2 separate regions of the Homo sapiens genome follow, and region 1 is linked to region 2. Evidence: promoter capture Hi-C in 16 types of primary human blood cells and fetal thymus (Javierre and others, 2016). All regions are on one chromosome and are shown on one strand. The core of a region is centred on a gene start or on the middle of the fragment in contact, and the rest is flanking DNA. Distances in the headings are between cores, read along the strand shown.

Region 1 (4,298 bases), core at 1,108-3,607, 290 kb before region 2:
GCGTGGCACTCTGGTGGTGAGTGTGACCTTGTGCCCCATGTGCCCACTGGCAGGATGATTTCTGTCTGGCCTTCACTAGAGGGCAGCAACAACCCATGAATCCCTATTTTGTCTCCCAGAGACAGGAAGCATAGATTATAAATTATTTCAGAATGTTTTCTCCACACTCAAAAGAGCCAAAACAAAACAGAATCCCATGACAGCAACAGACTTGCTCTCAGCCCTGTGCTGGGTTGCCCCAAGTGTGGGGAAAAATAGCAGTAGCTGTGAGAAGATGGGGTCCAGCATGCCCTGTAGGAAGTTCCCAAGCCTCAGGGCAGGACAGTGTAGGCCCTAGTTCTGGCTGTGTGCTGCTGAAGCCTCATGCCACAGGCACTGGCACCAAAAGCAAGAGTCCTCAGGGTAGCCACATGGAGGAAGCCAGGCTCCTTCTGCACCACCAAGGTAGAGGAGTTGAACAGGCAGAGAAGAGGCCATTCCAGACCAAGAGGGGAACACTGCAGAGGTGCTAAGGTGGGAATCACCCCTTGCAGGTGGAGAAGGTGAGATCACCAGCCCAAGTGGAGCAGAGAGCATTTCAGGGCATAGTGGGAGAGTAAGCCGCACATCATGGGGCCCAGTCATGACCGAGGGTGGGGGGCGGCTACCTGGTCCCAGCAAGGTGGAAAATAATATCCATAGAGCACTCAAGTGCCTTGATAAACATGCTAATTTTTTTCCTTTTTTTCTTTTCTTTTTCTTTTCTTTTTTTTTCTTTTTTTTTTCTCAGACAAAGTCTCTGTTGCCCAGGCTGTAGTGCAGTGGCGTGATTTCCACTTACTGCAACCTCCGCCTCCCCAGTTCAAGCGATTCTCATGTCTCAGCCTCCCGAGTAGCTGGGACTACAGGTGCCTGCCACCACACTTGGCTAATTTTTTTTGTATTTCTTTGGAGAGACGGGTTTCACTGCGTTGGCCAGGCTGGTCTGGAACTCCTAGCCTCAAATGATCCACCGGCCTTGGCCTCCTAAAGTGCTGGGATTATAGGAGTGAACCACTGCACCTGGCCAAACATGCTATTTTAGGTAGAGTATCTGACTAATCTGTTGGATAAATCAGGGGTAGGGTGAGGAGAGAAGAGAAGCTAAAAGGCCAGTGCAGAAGCTTCTGTTGGTGCCGGGGACAGGGAGGAGAGTGTAGCAGGGCCTGGGCTGACATAGACATGCACAGAAGCCAGGCTTCCGGAGCCCATCTTGCACCCATCTCCTCAGCCCAGCAGATGGCAACACTGCTCTTCAGAAATGGAGGTGGCCAGCCAGCATGGGGATGCCGTCAGGGGGTGCAGGGCTCTCCCATTTTTGTGCGGTGTGGGGTACACATAAGCTCATCCACCCCAGGTTATTGCTGCGTGTGGATCAGCTCTTTGCTTCTGGCTTGTGATCACCAAACATTCCACAAGCTCTGGTTCTGCAACCTTATTCCCACCTATGGCTGTGCTCTACCTGGTCTGTGGGTCTGCTGTTGGCAGGGAGGCCTCACTGAGATTGGACCTTGTACTGCCAGGTTCATCCCTGAGTCCCCCCGATGGCTCATCTCTCAGGGACGATTTGAAGAGGCAGAGGTGATCATCCGCAAGGCTGCCAAAGCCAATGGGATTGTTGTGCCTTCCACTATCTTTGACCCGAGTGAGGTAAGCACCATGTGGGTGTGGGTGAGAGGGACAGACTGACCGTGATTTGAGAGCAGCAGCACCCAGCCCTGAAGTCCTCCCTGCTCACAGCAGCCCAGCCCTCTCTCCGCCCAAGCCCCAACTGCCCATTCCCCCCATCCCCCCACTCCCCACCCCCACACGGGCCCTGTTAACACTCAGAAGTTGAGGAATAGGTTACAGCTGCCTCACTCTTTTCACCACGGGTTTCAGATTTTCATTTTTTACTTCCTTTCTAGGCAATCATATATTTTAACCATTACTTCTAACAATAAATACTCTTTTTGAGTAATAGGCCTTTCATAAAGTCAGCATTTGGGAAAATCATTGTTTCTTATACCTAAGGTGGCTTGTCACCTTACAAAGCTAACCCCAAACGTAAAATGTAAAGCACAAATAGATTTGGAGTTAGAAGTATTTCATCTCTTGAGTATTAGCAATTATTCATTAAAAAGAAAAAAAAAGTGTTTAGTCTCTTTCTGCCCTCCAATGGTTAATTATTGCATATCATCTTGGAGTCAGGTCCTTTTTGATGTCCACCTCTTCCCCCTACCCCACCCCTCCCGTCAGCCCTGTTCTCACACACCATGACTCATTTCTTGGCTCTACCTAGTTCCTGGTTCTTGCTTTTCCTTCCCGTTCCCTCTCCTACCATCTCTGTAGCAGGCAGTTTTCCTTGGTCTCGTGACTATGAGAGGTTAGAAGCTGTAAATGCTGCCTGGTGGGGTTCTGGAATGTGTCTGTGGTCTGACTGGAAGATGAGGGGTTGGGTGTGGGAACAGCCACAAGCAGCCCTGCTGAAGTGTGAGAGGCAGGCATGGTTGGGCTTGGAAAAGAGGGAACAGTTATTGTAGACAGCGGAGGCCAATGGCCACTGCCAGCCCTGCAGACTTCCCAGTGAGTGGTGGCCCAGCAGCCACTGTCAGCATGCACCAGAAAGGGGTCCTGTGCGCAAAGGTCAGGCAGGAGTGTGGCAGAGGGCTTTTAAGTTAGGTGGTTTTGGGGGCTTTTAAGTGAGGGGTCAATCTGGGTGAATGCATAAGCCCCACTGGCATCTTTGAGGAAATGAGGCTATTTCAGGGGATACTTTCAGTCCAAAGTTGACCTTTTGTTGAACTTCTAACTCTGGAAAAACAAGCTCCAAACCTGGGTTTGCTTAAGAAAGCAACATCAGTGTGTTTAGACGTGTGGTTTATTAATGGCCTTGGCTGTGCTGAATTTCATAGGAAGTCACTCTGGGTGAAGCTCAGGTCAATTTTCCTGTTTTTCTATTTGAATTCTTTTTCCCTGGAAGCACACCAGTAACTACATAGTATAAGGACTCAAAACATTAACTTTTAAAAAATATCAGACCAATAAACCACACAGCCAGGTACTCTCTCTGACCCAGAGGGCAGGGAGCCAGGCTTCGGGAGGAATACTTAGAGGCCTCCTTGGAATGTGGCCACCGACAGGAATATGTGGGGGTGCAGTGAGGAAGCTGTCAGCCTGGGCCTCTGTCTTCCTGTACCCTTGAGGGACTGGTCACTTACTTTTCCTCATTTTCATTCACTCTGATTTGTTACTGACAAGGCCTAGGGAAGTTTTCACAGCCTAAAACACAGTCAGTATACTTACTGTTCTTAGAAACGTAACACTCCCCGACGCTGAGATGCAGACAGCTAAGATGCCAGGGATTCAAGTATGTTATTGTGTGCTCTGAGTCTCTGACCACCTCTTCTTCCCATACACTTATGATGTTGTTCCTGCAGTTACAAGACCTAAGTTCCAAGAAGCAGCAGTCCCACAACATTCTGGATCTGCTTCGAACCTGGAATATCCGGATGGTCACCATCATGTCCATAATGCTGTGGTATGTAAAAGAGACCTGCCTGAGGCTTCCAGACAAAGCTTCTTGAAGTGGCCATTGGGCCTCTTGTTTACAGACATGCCTCAGACAAAATTCAAAGCCTATGTCATCAGAGAGTGAAAAGGATATGTCTTGTGTTAGATGGAAAAAATGGGCATGTCACAATTCTTAATGGGATGGAACCTCAGAAAAGGAGAATGAAAACAATTGTGGAGGCTGTTGTGGGAAATATGGACTCTTGTGGGGAATCTCTCCAGATCTTAAGATGAATCCTTGCCCAATTTGGGTCATTTAGTTCCCGTCTCCTACCCAGTTACCGACAGTGGCTGAGGAGGCCAGGTAGGGCTTTTAAGAAGGATCTGAGTGAAGACACCATGTCCTGTAGGCTGCAGAGGCTGCCAGTTACTTTCTGGAAATGTGGAAGTGGGATGTGCTCCTCCTGGGATGTCCATAAACGGTCCTGGAGTCAGGGCTATAGCCTAGATGTCCTTACCAGGTTCCCACTAATGAGGCAAAGTATGTCAGAAAGGGATTTGTGAATTACCAGGGAGAGGAAACATGTCCAAGTGCACATCGCTAGCTTTTGCTCAGCGGCCGAACCCTGGGATTCTAGGCGACTTCTGGAGCCTGGTGGGTTAGCGGTGAGAAGATGGGCGAGGAGGGCGGACTTCATCTCAGAGTCCTTATTACTAGTCTCATCCAGCTTTGAGGCAGTCAGCCACTGTGCCTACTGAGGGAGTGCTATGAGTCACCCGCTTCCAAG
Region 2 (4,021 bases), core at 313-2,812:
CACGAGGTCAGGAGATGGAGACCATCCTGGCTAACACGGTGAAACCCCGTCTCTACTAAAAATACAAAAAATTAGCCGGGCGTGGTGGCAGGTGCCTGTAGTCCCAGCTACTCGGGGAGGCTGAGGCAGGAGAACGGCATGAACCCAGGAGGCGGAGCTTGCAGTGAACTAAGATCACGCCACTGCACTCCAGCCTGGGTGACAGAGCAAGATTCCATCTCAAAAAAAAAAAAAAAAAAAAGAAATTCATAGGGAAAAGAAGGTCAGAGACCAAGGGAAGGGAAGGTTCTGGGAGAAAAGCAGGGGGCAGGCAGGGCCCAAGAATCCTGCTGCCCATGAGCCCTTACTGGGAGGTGGGGTGGCCTTGCACAGGGCCCAGGCACCTGAGTGAGTGGTGGGGTCCTTACGTTCACTGCTGGGGTGAGGCAATGAGCACCTTATTGTGTCCACATGAATTCAATAAAAAACAAGCAGGGCGGGTGGTGGGGCACTGACTAGGAGGGCTGATTTGTAAGTTGGTAAGACTGTAGCTCTTTTTCCTAATTAGCTGAGGATGTGTTTAGGTTCCATTCAAAAAGTGGGCATTCCTGGCCAGGCATGGTGGCTCACACCTGTAATCTCAGAGCTTTGGGAGACTGAGGTAGGAGGATCACTTGAGCCCAGGAATTTGAGATGAGCCTAGGCAACATAGTGAGACTCTTATCTCTATCAAAAAATAAAAATAAAAATGAGCCAGGCATGGTGCGGTGGCACGCACCTACTGCTAGGGGGGCTGAGGTGGGAGGATCACTTGAGCCTGGGAGGTTGAGGCTGCAGTGATCCCTGATCACAACATTGCATTTCAGCCTGGGTGACAGAGTGAGACCCTGTCTCAGAAAAAAAAAAAAAAAAGTCATTCCTGAAACCTCAGAATAGACCTACCTTGCCAAGGGCTTCCTTATGGGTAAGGACCTTATGGACCTGCTGGGACCCAAACTAGGCCTCACCTGATACGACCTGTCCTTCTCAAAACACCTAAACTTGGGAGAACATTGTCCCCCAGTGCTGGGGTAGGAGAGTCTGCCTGTTATTCTGCCTCTATGCAGAGAAGGAGCCCCAGATCAGCTTTTCCATGACAGGACAGTTTCCAAGATGCCACCTGTACTTGGAAGAAGCCAGGTTAAAATACTTTTCAAGTAAAACTTTCTTGATATTACTCTATCTTTCCCCAGGAGGACTGCATTACAACAAATTCGGACACCTGTGGCCTCTCCCTTCTATGCAAAGCAAAAAGCCAGCAGCAGCCCCAAGCTGATAAGATTAATCTAAAGAGCAAATTATGGTGTAATTTCCTATGCTGAAACTTTGTAGTTAATTTTTTAAAAAGGTTTCATTTTCCTATTGGTCTGATTTCACAGGAACATTTTACCTGTTTGTGAGGCATTTTTTCTCCTGGAAGAGAGGTGCTGATTGGCCCCAAGTGACTGACAATCTGGTGTAACGAAAATTTCCAATGTAAACTCATTTTCCCTCGGTTTCAGCAATTTTAAATCTATATATAGAGATATCTTTGTCAGCATTGCATCGTTAGCTTCTCCTGATAAACTAATTGCCTCACATTGTCACTGCAAATCGACACCTATTAATGGGTCTCACCTCCCAACTGCTTCCCCCTCTGTTCTTCCTGCTAGCATGTGCCGGCAACTTTGTCCACGGACACAAGTGCGATATCACCTTACAGGAGATCATCAAAACTTTGAACAGCCTCACAGAGCAGAAGGTGAGTACCTATCTGGCACCATCTCTCCAGATGTTCTGGTGATGCTCTCAGTATTTCTAGGCATGAAAACGTTAACAGCTGCTAGAGAAGTTGGAACTGGTGGTTGGTGGCAGTCCAGGGCACACAGCGAGGCTTCTCCCCTGCCACTCTTTTTTCTGAGGGTTTGTAGGAAGTTTCCTCAGTTGGAGGGAGTGAGAGCTGCTCATCAAGGACTTCTCTGTCCGGTTGGAGGTTAACTCTGTCTCTTGCTCTCTCATTTCTGCCTGGACCAAGACTCTGTGCACCGAGTTGACCGTAACAGACATCTTTGCTGCCTCCAAGGTAAGAAGCCGTCCCACGGTCTGTTTTAGCAAATGGGGAGATCCATCCCCAAATGTCTGAACAAGAAACTTGTCTAATGGAAAACGAGCGGGCCCAAATTAACTCTAAGGTGTTAGATGTTTTCAAAGAACGAGAAGTCTGATCTTTACTCTTAAGCATGTTTTGGTCTTTCTGGTTTCACTTGATTTAGAAGACATGTAATAGAAAGCTTACATGCTGTAGTCCTGACTCAGATCCTGGTCAAAGAAAAGCCCTCTTGGGTTTTACTTAGCTTTGGCATAGTGCCTGGAACGTAGGAGGCACTCAATAAATGCCTGTTGAATGAGAGAATTTTTCTGGCCCATACATTTCTGAAAAACCAAATACTCTCACAGAAACAGATATTGAGATGACAGGTTGAGGGAGCTTTCATTTTGTCTAAGAGACTTCCTATGGCAACAGAAAAGGTATCGCCAGAGCCCCTCCTCTTCCACAGCCTGGCCACCTAACAGCCCTCTGGGTTCCGGGGCTGGCCGTCCAGAGCTCCTCAGCTTGCTCTGGCCGGCCGAACTCCCCTCCAGCTCGGTCTGGAACCATCCTGCTGGGCAGCGTCCAGCACATCCCTGCTTCGGGCTGCCTGGGCACCTCGCCTCTCTGCCTCCTGTGCTGCCTCACCCCCACCCCTCTATCTGTAGTGGGAGGAGATAGATTTGACAGCTGATAGTGCATTTTCTCTGACAAACACATGACTACAGCCGTATCAATAGTTTTGTGCATTTCAGTTCCTGTTTTCATGGAAACACACGGCTGAGAATGAAAGCCCCAAAGCCTCAATTTCACAGTGGTCTCCTAACTACCTGCTTTCCATGCAAACTAGGGAGATGATATGGCCAGGAGTGAAGCCCTGTGTGTTGGGCAGGGTCACACTCCAGCACCCAGACCATAGAACAGGGCCCATCCTGCTTCATGAGGGAAACTGCTCTTCGGGCCTTTAGCTGGACTATCTCATTTCATTAGTTATCCCGGGAGTCCGATACAGGATGAGATTCTGAAGGGCAAATACACACTTTTTTTTTTTTTTGAGATAGGGTCTTGTTCTGTCACCCAGGCTGGAGTGCAGTGGTGCGATTTCAGCTCATAGCAGCCTCCACCTCCCAGGCTCAAGCTATCTTCCTACCTCAGCCTCCCAAGTAGCCGGGACGACAGGTGTGCACCACCACGCCTGGCTAATTTTTGTATTTTTTTGTAGAGATGGAGTCTTGCCATTTTGCCCAGGCTTGTCTCGAACTTCTGGGCTCAAGCAATCCGTCCACCTCGGCCTCTCAAAGTGCTGGGATTAGCCACTGCACCTGGGCAACAGTTTATGTGTGTGTGTGTGTGTGTGTGTGTGTGTATATATGTGTGTGTGTATATATATGTGTGTATGTATATATGTGTATGTATATGTGTGTGTGTGTGTGTGTGTGTGTGTATAAAATCTCCAAGTCCATCCAACCGAGATGGCTCCTACTAGAAGCCAAGAGTCCACCGGGTTGAGCACTGGGTCTCTGGAGGCCTGTGGCACTGCTGAGAAGGCTCTAACAAAGCCAAGGGAAGGGCCACCTCACTAGAAGCCAGGCCTGGAGGAAGGGTGAGGGCTGAGGGCCTGGAGGTAAGACTGCCTGTGGTTTTAGACCCAGCTCTGCCACTGACTAGCTGTGTGGCTGGCCTTCAGCACATCTTCACACCTCTCTGCACCTCAGTTTCCACATGTGAAGATATGAAAGTGATTCTGAAGGTGATTGCAAGGTTGATTGGAATCCAGCTCTTGAGTTAGTGCAAAGTGTTATTGTGAGATGATATAACCACGATTAAAAGCAAGAACAGGTGCAGAGAAGCGATGATTCTAAGAAGGAGGGGACCGGGTTGGAAAGGATCAAACCATCCAGGATGCCGAGTCTGGGGCAATCCATCTGGGCTGTT

The links. The method cuts DNA at HindIII sites, captures the fragments that hold promoters and counts their contacts. A CHiCAGO score of 5 or more calls a contact.
Region 1: a fragment that was not itself captured here is called in contact with the fragment with the promoter of IL4 in region 2 in 1 of 17 cell types (endothelial precursors); the score reaches 5.9 in endothelial precursors.

The regions. Positions count from the first base shown.
Region 1 is chr5:132,385,484-132,389,781 of GRCh38, forward strand. SLC22A5 (solute carrier family 22 member 5) reads left to right here. Exons shown (of 10, transcript NM_003060.4): 4 at 1-16; 5 at 1,542-1,668; 6 at 3,438-3,538. Among named protein-coding and RNA genes, the nearest start is that of MIR3936HG, 18 kb to the left of the region's middle. RefSeq lists enhancers at 135-464, 958-1,007, 1,148-1,357. The HindIII fragment of the contact is 2,434 bases long and covers 1,141-3,574 here.
Region 2 is chr5:132,672,427-132,676,447 of GRCh38, forward strand. IL4 (interleukin 4) reads left to right here and starts at 1,563. Exons shown (of 4, transcript NM_000589.4): 1 at 1,563-1,759; 2 at 2,033-2,080. The coding sequence starts at 1,625. The HindIII fragment of the contact is 7,466 bases long and covers 1-2,286 here.